Regions from separate parts of the Homo sapiens genome. Here region 1 is linked to region 2. Evidence: promoter capture Hi-C in human tissues and cell types (Jung and others, 2019). All regions are on one chromosome and are shown on one strand. Each heading gives the region's core, a stretch centred on a gene start or on the middle of the fragment in contact. The rest is flanking DNA. Distances are from core to core; before and after follow the strand shown.

Region 1 (4,965 bases), core at 2,362-4,861, 68 kb after region 2:
TATTATATATATACATAATTTTTATATATATGTGAAATTGTATTCAGAATATACAAAGAACTACAAAACAGTACCCACAACAGCATTCTTCTCACAAAGGACATTCACAAAGATAAGTAATATGCTAAGCCATAAAACAGTCTCAATACACTTCAAAATATTGAAAACATACTGACTATGTTCCACGATCATGGCATATTAAATTAGAAAGCAGTAATGAAATATATCTCAACAATTCAAAAATATTTAGAAACTGAACAAGACTTCTAAGCAACCTATGGGTTAGTTAATGCGGATGATTTGGAGGAAGGGTCTTAAGCTTGGTCCTTGTCTATTGTCTGCCCCTTACAGGAGAAATCCAAAGCAGTAGCCCAGTAAACAACCTGTGCCCTTGTCTGTGATTCCATATAAAGGCAGGATGACTTCATAGGCAGGGTTGCCAGATTTAGCAAACAAAAATACAGGATGTGCCGTTCAGATTGAATTTCAGAGAAACAATAAATAATTTTTTTTAGTATAAGTATGTTCCATGCAACATGTGGAACATACTTACTGTATATTTTTTGTTGTTTATCTGAAATTTAAATTTAACTGGGCATTCTCTATTTTGTCTGAACAACCCTATTCACAAGTGACTGGGATGGCAATGCCTGCTCCAAGTCTCAAGCCAACTGGCATCTAGTTGGTCTCTCAGATCTGGGTAAGGGTCTGGCCTTTACTCGAGGCTGGCGAGGTATCCTGCCAGTAGCCTGCTGTCCTGGAGCTTTTCAGCTGGGGAAAGAGAACAGACTTTGCCTGGCACACCGGGAACTTGTCCTAACAGCTTTTGGGGCTTATACAACATTGGTGATCGTCCACCCAGAGTGTCCTCCAGAATCACTGACTGACAGAGTAGGGTGTGGAGCATGGTGAGTTGTCGGTGTGGAGAGGGGCAGTTCCTCAAAGATGAGGAATGTTTGTGGGATGAGAATGTTTCTAAACCAGCACATGGTCAGCAAGGCAATCTAACAGAAAGTTCATATTCTCAATCTCCTTTATTCAACAGAACAAAAGAAGGCAAAGAGAGCAAAGAAAAGCAGTGCAGAAATGCAGACTGCATCAGAAGGTACATCACACACCATTCAGGGACACTGCAAGGGAAGATAAGGACAACTTATTTGTCAGATGGGAACTCCTGAGTGTAGTTATGATGGGCAGGACTGTTGGGAATTGAAGAGAGGACTGCTCCTCTGCAGCTGGACCCAGATTGAGCTTCAGCTTTTAGTGGGTGGCATATGTCATTTTCATCTCAGAATTACAGCAGACTCATGTATCTGTAATAAGATGGAAGCATGAGAAGGATGTTTGCATGTCTGTGTGATAATGACCGTTGATCTTTTGATGGTGATCAATGGGAGCTCAGTGGAACAGGTATCAGCACAGAGGGGAAACAAAGGGTAGAAAACCTCAGCTCTGATTTAAAGAGCAAGAGAGACTAGAGGGACTTTTAGTTTGGGGTCTGGCACTTCAGGAGGTTGAAAGTCATCACTACATTCTAACAAAAAGTAAAAAATGGAAAAAATGAAAAGCAACAACTCTTCTTCATCTGTCAGAGAACTAAGATTACAGGGCAAACCACTGCCTTCCAACTGGAGAGTTAAAGAAGCAATTACAGAGAATCCCAACTTACCAGAGTAGTAACCCATGAGCAGAAATCTCCACAGGAACCAGTATTTGGGTAGAAAACCCTGAGCCATAATTGGTAAATTGCCGGAGGCTCCGTGTGGATAAGTTTGAGTGTTGAGAATTCCAGGGGAGCCCACTCTTAGAGAAGCATACTTAGTTTTACTCCAGGGGCTCCACCAGGTCCTCACAGAGAAAATGTGAGAAGAATCTCATGCTTCCAGTAGGGGGAGCAGACAAAGAACCATTTTGAAATAGACAGAGCATTCTGTTCTTAAGGCAGTCTGCCGTCAGGAACAACTATTTAACCACAGGCAGCCCTGCTGAGGTTTTATCAGAGCCTGGTCTAGCTGGAGAAAGGGAAATACCCAACCCCAGCTCCCTCCAGCTATGCTGACCCTACTTAAAGAGGTGAAAAAAGCCTCAGAAGCACTTGTGAAGTTCACAGCCAAGGGGCGCAGGCTCACTAAAAGACTGAGACCTAATTCTACTCATAGGTCTATAGAATACCTCCCCTCACCTCATACCTCATCACTACATTACTAAAGCTTATTTATCAGTTTCTTCCATCCATTTTCAACAAAAAAATTACAAAGCATACTTCAAGGTAGAAAACAGTTTGAAAAGACAGAGCAAGTACCAGAACCACACTCAGATATGGCAGGGATATTGGAATTATTAGATCGGGAATTTAAAACAACCATGATTAACAAGCTAAGAGCACAAATGAACAAGGTACACAACATGCAAGAACAGATGGGTAATGAAAGCAGATAGACAGAAATTCTAATAATAAAAAATAAATGCTAGAGATAAAAAACATTATAACAGAAATGACGAACGCCTTTTGTGGGCTCATTAGTAGACTAGACACAGCTGACATTAGAATCTGAGCTTGAGGGTATGTCAATAGAACTGTTTTTTCAGTTCTTTCTCAACTGAAAAGCAAAAATAAAAAAAGACTGAGAAAAGAAGAACAGAATATGCAAGAACTGTGGGGGAAACTATGAAAGATGTAACTTGTGTAAAAGGAATACTAGAACAAGAAATAGAGAAAGCAACATAATAAATATTGGAGAAAGTAATGACTGAGAATTTCCAAAAATTAGTGTCAGACATAAAAAAATACCTGTGTATATTATATTCAAACTGTAGAAAATGAAAGATAACAAAAATCCTGAAAGAAGCCATGGTTGGGGGGGAAACAACTTATCTATAGTGGAACAAAGATAAGAATTAAATCTCACTTCCTCACAGAAACCTTGCAAGCAAGAAAAGACTGGAGTAAAATATTTACTGTTGGGTGAGAAAACAGCAACACGGAATTCTATATCTTGCTAAATTATCCTTCAAAAATGAAGAAAAAATAAAGACTTTCTCAAGACAAACAAAAATGAAGAGAATATGTTGCCAGTAGTCCTGCCTTGCAAGAAATGTTAAAAGAAGCTCTTCACCAAGAAGGAAAATTATATAGGTCAGAAACTCGGATCTACATAAAGAAAGGAAAAGCATTAGAGAAGAAATAAGATCTAACAGATAAATGTTCGTTCAAAATAATAATAGCAACAATGTCTTCAATGTTTATACTTTATGTGTAAGTGAAATGAATGACAGCATTGATACAAAGGATGCGAGGGAGGAATTAGCGATACGGTCACCCCTTGGTATATGCCAGGGATTGATTCCAAGACCCTGCACATATACCAAAATCCTGGCATACGCAAGTCCCACTGTCAGCCCTGTAGGATCCTCTACATGAAAAGAAAAGTTGGCCCTTCATAATACTTGGATATTGCATCTTGTGAATTCTACATATATGTGGATCCATGCAGTTCAAACCCATGTTGTTCAAGGGTCAACTGTACTTGGTTATTTCAAAGAACTTGCAATACCCATGAAGCAGTATAGTGTTATTTGAAAGTAGACTTGGATTAGTTGTAAATGTATATTGCAAACTCTAGGGCAACCACTGAAAGAAGTAAAAAAAAAAAAAAAAAGTATAACCGATATACTAAAAAGGAGAGAAAATGGAATCATAAAATGCTCAGTTAAAACCACAAAAGATGAAAAAAGAGTGGGAGACAAAAAAGGAACGAAAAACAAGAGCAATAACTAGAAAACAGTAAGAAATATGGTAGATATTAATCCAACTATATCAATAATAACTTTAAATGGTGATGGTCTAAATGCACCAGCTTAAAGATAGAGATTGTTAGAATGGATCAAAAAACAAAACCCAACAGTATGCTGTCTAAAACAAACCCATTTTTAAATATAAAGACATATATGATTAAAAGTAAAGGGATGGAGAAAAGACATACCATGCTAATGCTAATTAAAAGAAAGCTGAAGTAGCTGTATTAATTTGGGACAGGACAGACTTCATAGCAAGGAAAATTATCAGTAAGAAAGAGGGGCATTACCTAATGATAAAGGTGTCAATAATAATCCTTAATTCCAAGATATAACTATCCGTAATATGTACGTGCTTAACAACAGAGCATCAAAATATGTGAGGCAAAAACCAATGGAATAATGGGGTAGAGAAACAGAGGAATCCACTATTCTAATCAGAGACTTCAACACTATTTTATATTAGAAAATATTTATATTGATTTTTTATTAGAAAATGAGTAAGGACATAGTTGAACTCAAAAACACCATCAATCACCTCAATATAATTGACACCTTTAGAACACTTCACCAAACAAGAGCAGAATACACATTCTTCTCAAGCTCACATAGAACATTCACACTGTGGCCATAAAACATACCTTAAAATTTTTTAAAAAATATAAATCATACAATGTATGCTCTCAGACCACAATAGAAGTAAGCTAGAAATCAATAACAGAAAGATAGTTTAAAAATCCCCAAATACGGCCAGGCATGTTGGCTCATGCCTGTAATTCCAGCACTTTGGGAGGCTGAGATGGGCAGATCACCAGATCAGGAGTGAGAGACCAGCCTGACCAACATGGTGAAACCCCATCTCTACTAAAAACACAAAAATTAGCTGCACGTGGTGGCACATGCCTGTAATCCCAGCTACTCAGGAGGCTGAGGCAGGAGAATTGCTTGAACCTAGGAGGCAGAGGTTGCAGTGAACCGAGATCACGCCACTGCACTCCAGCCTGGGCAACAGAGTGAGACCATCTCAAAAAAAAAAAAAAAATCCCCAAATACATGGAGATTAAACAACAAACTTCTGAATAACACATGGGTCAAGGAAGAAATCTGAACATACATTTTTAAATATTTTGAACTAAATAAAAATGAAAATATGACACCAAAATTTATGGG
Region 2 (5,730 bases), core at 597-3,096:
TTTCTGTCATTCCAGAGCTTTGGCTCTACTTTAAGTTCTTTGTGTAGATTCCTCTCATTGGTCTGCAGGCTTCTTGGTGGCTGGGGCCCTAGGACAGTCACCCCCAGGTTAAGGAACTCACGCCATTTTTTGTCTTGCACACTCCAGCACAGGAGGGCGGCAAACCCAGCATCTGGCGGCACCCCTGCTGCTGCCCTTGCAACCTGACTTAGAAAACCACAAGCAACCCCTTCGATTACATGCTCCTGTGCTGTAGGGCTAGGCCCTGCCGGGAAAGCCCCCCGAGACAGGGTCCCTGGGGAAGGACCTTCCACCGTTACCTCAGGGGCTGAGAGGAAAACACCCTGTGAAGGGGAAATTCTTCCGGGGCAGCTTCCAGGCCTAAGCTCCACGCTCCCTGCCCAGGTCAGCTTCTCCTTTTCCCTCCCCAGCAGTGGGAGCAGTTGTCTTCTGCCCTCGGCTGGATCCAAACAAGCCAAGTGTTCTCAGTTTAGTTATAGGAAGTGGTCAGAGTCTTGCATGAGGGCAGCTGCCAGATACCTAGCTTTGAAATAATTTTTTTTGTTTTTTGGAGACAGAGTCTTGCTCTGTTGCCCAGGCTGGAGTGCAGTGGCACAATCTAGGCTCACTGCAACCTCTGCCTCCCAGGTTCAAGTGATTCTTCTACTTCAGTCTTTTGAGTAGCTGCGACTACAGGCATGCACCACTGCGCTCGGCTGATTTTTGTATTTTTAGTAGAGGCGGGGTTTCACCATGTTAGCCAGGCTGGACTCAAACTCCTGACCTCAGGCAATCTGCCCTCCTTGGCCTCCCAAAGTGCTGGGATTACAGGTGTGAGCCACCATGCCCAGCCCTGAAATAATTTTTTAACATTGCACTGTACCCACACTACCTGAGCTATAAAGCAGTGATACTTCCTGTTTGAAAATTGAGTGCTCCCTGAAGTTGCCAGGAAACTGGCAGAACAGCCCACCCTGAACCTGGGAGTGAAACTCAGGGGGTCCTGTTCCTTGGTGACTTCAGCCATAGGGTGTTTCCCCAGGGAGTGCAGGGGCTAATATCCCAGCTCCTGCCTGACTTCCTAGAGTAGGACAAATAATCTTATCCAGGAGAGAAAATCCAACTGGAGGAAATGCAGCTGACTGGAAAGGTTCTCATGGTTGTAAGGCAATGTCAAGGTCACCACCACCCAGGCCCTGCCCAACACAGAAGGCCCTAGACAATATCCCTGCTAGGGGGGCATGCAGATGCTGCAGAGTCATTCCTCTTCCTTCCTGGGGTCCACTTCACTGCTAGACAGCTGTGGTCCTTAGCATGGCCCAAGGACGGACCCTGGAGCTTCTTACCCAGATCCAGATCTTTGAGGACATCTTTCCAAGAAGAATCATCTTTCCATGTCTTCTTTTCCCTGAGGTAAAAATTCCAGCTTCCACACAAGACCCTATAATAGAGAGATGGTTTCTTTTGGGAAGAAACCTGGGGTTTTTCAGGTGAGTCTACTCTGGGGAAAGCCAGGCATTTCCCCTGCTCCTTGCTGATGGTTAAGCAAGAAGGAGGTAGCACTGGAAAAATAAAGCTAGGAGATCTCTTCAGGGGATAACTCTTCAGGTCCTTAATTAGGGAGCACAGATAAACTCCAAATTAGACCACTCCACTCTGCAAGGGCAGCATATTCCACTTGCTATCAGAAGAGCTTTGTTGCTGCAAAGGGCTTGGAGATCTCTGTTCTACAAATTGCCCATGGCCCCTGGCCCATCAGCAGGGGAAAGGAGATAGTGGAGAGACGCCCTTTTCCGGTGTCCTGGGCTCAACAGGGATAAAAGGAGGCAGCACTCTGGGTGCCCCATCAGTGTGTTCTCTACCCCTTGGAGACTGCTTTTCTCCAGCTCTGTCAACTCAACCTTTCCCACCATGAGTCGGCAACTGAACATCAAGTCCAGTGGTGACAAGGGCAACTTCAGTGTGCATTCGGCAGTGGTGCCAAGGAAGGCTGTGGGTAGCCTGGCTTCTTACTGTGCAGCTGGCAGAGGGGCTGGCGCTGGCTTTGGCAGTCGGAGCCTCTATAGCCTTGGAGGGAATCGGCGTATTTCTTTCAATGTGGCTGGTGGCGGCGTTCGGGCTGGAGGTTACGGCTTCAGGCCTGGCTCTGGGTATGGAGGGGGCCGGGCCAGTGGCTTTGCTGGCAGTATGTTTGGCAGTGTGGCCCTGGGGCCTGCATGTTTGTCTGTGTGCCCACCTGGGGGCATCCACCAGGTCACTGTCAACAAGAGCCTCTTGGCCCCCCTCAACGTGGAGCTGGACCCTGAGATCCAGAAGGTGCGCGCCCAGGAGCGGGAACAGATCAAGGTGCTGAACGACAAGTTCGCCTCCTTCATTGACAAGGTGGGTCTCATAGGAGGAGGATGAGGCCGCACCCTGAGGCCTGAGCAGTTTTCCTGCTGCCTGGGAATGGACTGCACACTGTGGCTGGAAAGGTGCAGCTGGGCCTCAGGAAGGGCTTCCTCACCATTAGGGAAGGAGAGTAGGTCTGTGAGCCACGGAGGACAAAGGAATACATGAATATATCGGCTTCTTTGGCGATTTTGCAGGGAAGGATGGGAAGCTGGGTAAAGAGCAGCCCTTCCTTGACAAAAAAGTGATGAGTTTCTTGAGGACAGCTGGATCTTCCAAGAACATGAAAGGCTAATAGAATCCAGCAGTGTTCAGAGGGAAGGGCTCATGGTACAGGAAGAGACACTTAGTTGAGACATAAGGAAGGACATCTCCTGGGACCAGGGCCGAGCAATAGAAGAAAGCTGTGGAAACTCCTTGAGTGAGTTCTCAGTGATGCCTTGTCCAGAAGGCTAGGAAATGAGCACTTGTAAAGGATCTAGTTTGTGTGGAATGGCAAGGGTGGAGAGTCAAGACATGAGCAAAAATGACTACAACAATCTATGGCAAACCTGGGGAGTCAATGGTGTGTGTCCAGGGGGCATGACTGCACCCATTGTGGTTCCAGGTGTCTGTTGATTTGGGTTCCAGGTACGCTTCCTAGAGCAGCAGAACCAGGTTCTAGAAACCAAGTGGGAGCTGCTGCAGCAGCTGGACCTGAACAACTGCAAGAAGAACCTGGAGCCCATCCTTGAGGGCTACATCAGCAACCTGCGGAAGCAGCTGGAGACACTGTCTGGGGACAGGGTGAGGCTGGACTCGGAGCTGAGAAGCATGAGGGATCTGGTGGAGGACTATAAGAAGAGGTGAGCAGGCTCCACCCGAGGGTCACAGACCATGTTTCCCGTGCCTCTGGGCTCACCTGATCTCTGTGCCATTATTTTTTAGGAGATGGGGGAGTATGCACCAGGGTCAGGAGCTCACATCCCTTTCTCTGGCTAGGGGGAAGGGCCTATCCTCTTTGATGATAACTTCCTGCCTAGTTGATAGGAAGCGGTTCCTGTGCTCCTTGACCCACTGAAATGTTCAGTTGCTGGTGTCGGGAGCCCAATAGGCACCTGGGTGTTTTCCTAACATGCAAAAACTAGGAGACAAGTGAAGCAACTCAGGGATATCTTACTCCTGTCACTAGCCTCTTACTGCTCACCCCAGAGACCCTGCAGGGACCCTGTATCCCAAACATTTGCCTGGCCAGCAGGAAGAGAAAGTTCCTTGGCTAAGGGGGCTAAGGCCATCTACTCTCCCTGCTGGCAGATATGAAGTGGAGATTAACCGGCGCACGACAGCAGAGAATGAGTTTGTGGTGCTTAAGAAGGTAAGAGAGGGAGGAGCCTCCTTATTAGGGTCTCTCGCACCCCCATCTTAACAACTCTGCTCAGGACTTCAGCCCAGGAGGCTGGGGAGGGGGCTGGTGCCTGGTGAGGGGGCTGGTGCCTGGTGAGGGTGGAGTCATAGTCCTGGCCTCCAGTGAGTTGGAGAGGAAAGACACACACTCAGGAAATGGACAGAGACAGACAGAATTCTGGTCTGGGAACTGTGAAACTCGGGTCCAGCTCAACCTTGCTGTGTGACCTGAGGAAACCTACTACCTCTCTGGGCTTTGTTTTCTCCAGGCATAACAGAGCTGCCCCATCCTCCTTTCCCTATTCCCAAAGCTTCAGGCAGCCTGAGAAGAAATTGATATTGAGTGAGCTTTCCTTTGTGGGTAGAAAATAGAAAATCAGGTGGCTTTGAGGCAGGAGTTGGGCAGGGCAGCTGTGGGATGAGGGTTGCATCCCCCAATGACTCTGGGGCCTCTTGGCAGGATGCAGATGCAGCCTACGCAGTCAAGGTGGAGCTTCAGGCCAAAGTGGACTCACTGGACAAAGAAATCAAGTTCCTCAAGTGTCTGTATGATGCAGTAAGGACACTCCTGTCCCCCCACCCTCACCCTGCCTCCTTCCCGACTCTTCCAGGGAGATACCAAAAGGAGAGATTTAGGATCAACAAAATGAAAGATGTTTTGGTAGAAAGGTACAAAACCCTGCACCAGGAGACCATGGAAGTGCAGGATGCTGGTCCTTGGAGGCCATACATACAGGAGGAAATTGATCTTGATACAATAGTGGACTTGCCCACGGGCAGGAAAAGATAACCCAGTGAGGTCTTACAAAGCACAGAGCCTTGGATTCTGTGAAATTGTGGAAAATGCATTATTCACCCGTCTGCATGTGCCAGCGGGCATCTGCCATATGCAGGGGTTCCTGCTGCTGTTAGCTGCTCTCCCTCAGCTCTGCAGACACATCCCAGAGGGCACTTCTTCCCCCTACTTTGTCCCCGTGGATCCTAGCAGCCTATTGGGCCAGGGACCATGGGCCCAGAAGACTGATGGGGCAGAAGAGGGAAGCCAGGGGGTTGCTGAATCTGTCTTCCTCTCTCAATGCAGGAGATCGCTCAGATCCAGACTCACGCCAGTGAGACCTCTGTCATCCTGTCCATGGACAACAACCGGGACCTGGACCTTGACAGCATCATCGCTGAGGTCCGCATGCATTATGAGGAGATCGCCCTGAAGAGCAAGGCCGAGGCCGAGGCCCTGTACCAGACCAAGGTGGTCACCGAATGGGTCTCCTCCCACAGCAGCCCTTCGCTTCCTGGGAGGGGTCACCTGCACAGTGAATGTGAGGAATACTTTTGTGGGCATGCTGAATGAAAGAAAGGTTCCAACCAAGGCTTCAAGGAAAAAAGGAATTCTTAGCAGAGCTTGTTATCAAAGATAAATCATGAAACTGGTATGGATTGAATATATGCAACAGAGAGGATCCCTCACTTCTTTCCTCCATCCACGAACTGCCTGTTCCTCTCTGTTGCAGGTGAAAGAAGTGAGGTGGTAAAACAAACACACTTATAGGAATGGGGGCATGTTGCCACAGGGCAGAGGGAGAATCACAGACTTGCGGGAGTGTAGCCATGGGTGAATTTGGTGGGGGGCGAGTGAGAGAAGGAGAAGCCTGTAGCTCTTTCCTGATCCCCACGGGAAGACTTTCAAAAGGAAATGGAAGGCGAGGAGTGCTCTGAGTAATGGAACTATGCTTTGGGTAAACTGAGTAATGGAACTATGTTTGGGGCTGTCAGGGAGAAAACCCCTTACCTGGGCCCCCAGGACCCTGTCCCAGCACTCCTCTTCAGTTCCGTTAAATCCCACCGACAGCCAGGGTGGCAGGGGTGGCTTATTTACAGGACCCTTCCCCAGTGCCCTTGTCTCATCACCAACTTCCTATCTCTGGGAAACCAGATCCAGGAGCTGCAGCTGGCAGCCAG

Evidence for each region. The method cuts DNA at HindIII sites, captures the fragments that hold promoters and counts their contacts. A contact is called where the count stands out against the background at its distance.
Region 1: a fragment that was not itself captured here is called in contact with the fragment with the promoter of KRT74 in region 2 in 5 of the 25 tissues and cell types used here (bladder, heart left ventricle, heart right ventricle and 2 more).

Annotation. Positions count from the first base shown.
Region 1 is chr12:52,504,228-52,509,192 of GRCh38, reverse strand. No RefSeq gene overlaps it. Among named protein-coding and RNA genes, the nearest start is that of KRT6A, 13 kb to the right of the region's middle. The HindIII fragment of the contact is 4,691 bases long and covers 1,266-4,965 here.
Region 2 is chr12:52,569,959-52,575,688 of GRCh38, reverse strand. KRT74 (keratin 74) reads left to right here and starts at 1,846. Exons shown (of 9, transcript NM_175053.4): 1 at 1,846-2,382; 2 at 3,022-3,236; 3 at 3,685-3,745; 4 at 4,235-4,330; 5 at 4,856-5,020; 6 at 5,705-5,730. The coding sequence starts at 1,912. RefSeq lists an enhancer at 3,252-3,421. The HindIII fragment of the contact is 9,071 bases long and covers 1-5,730 here.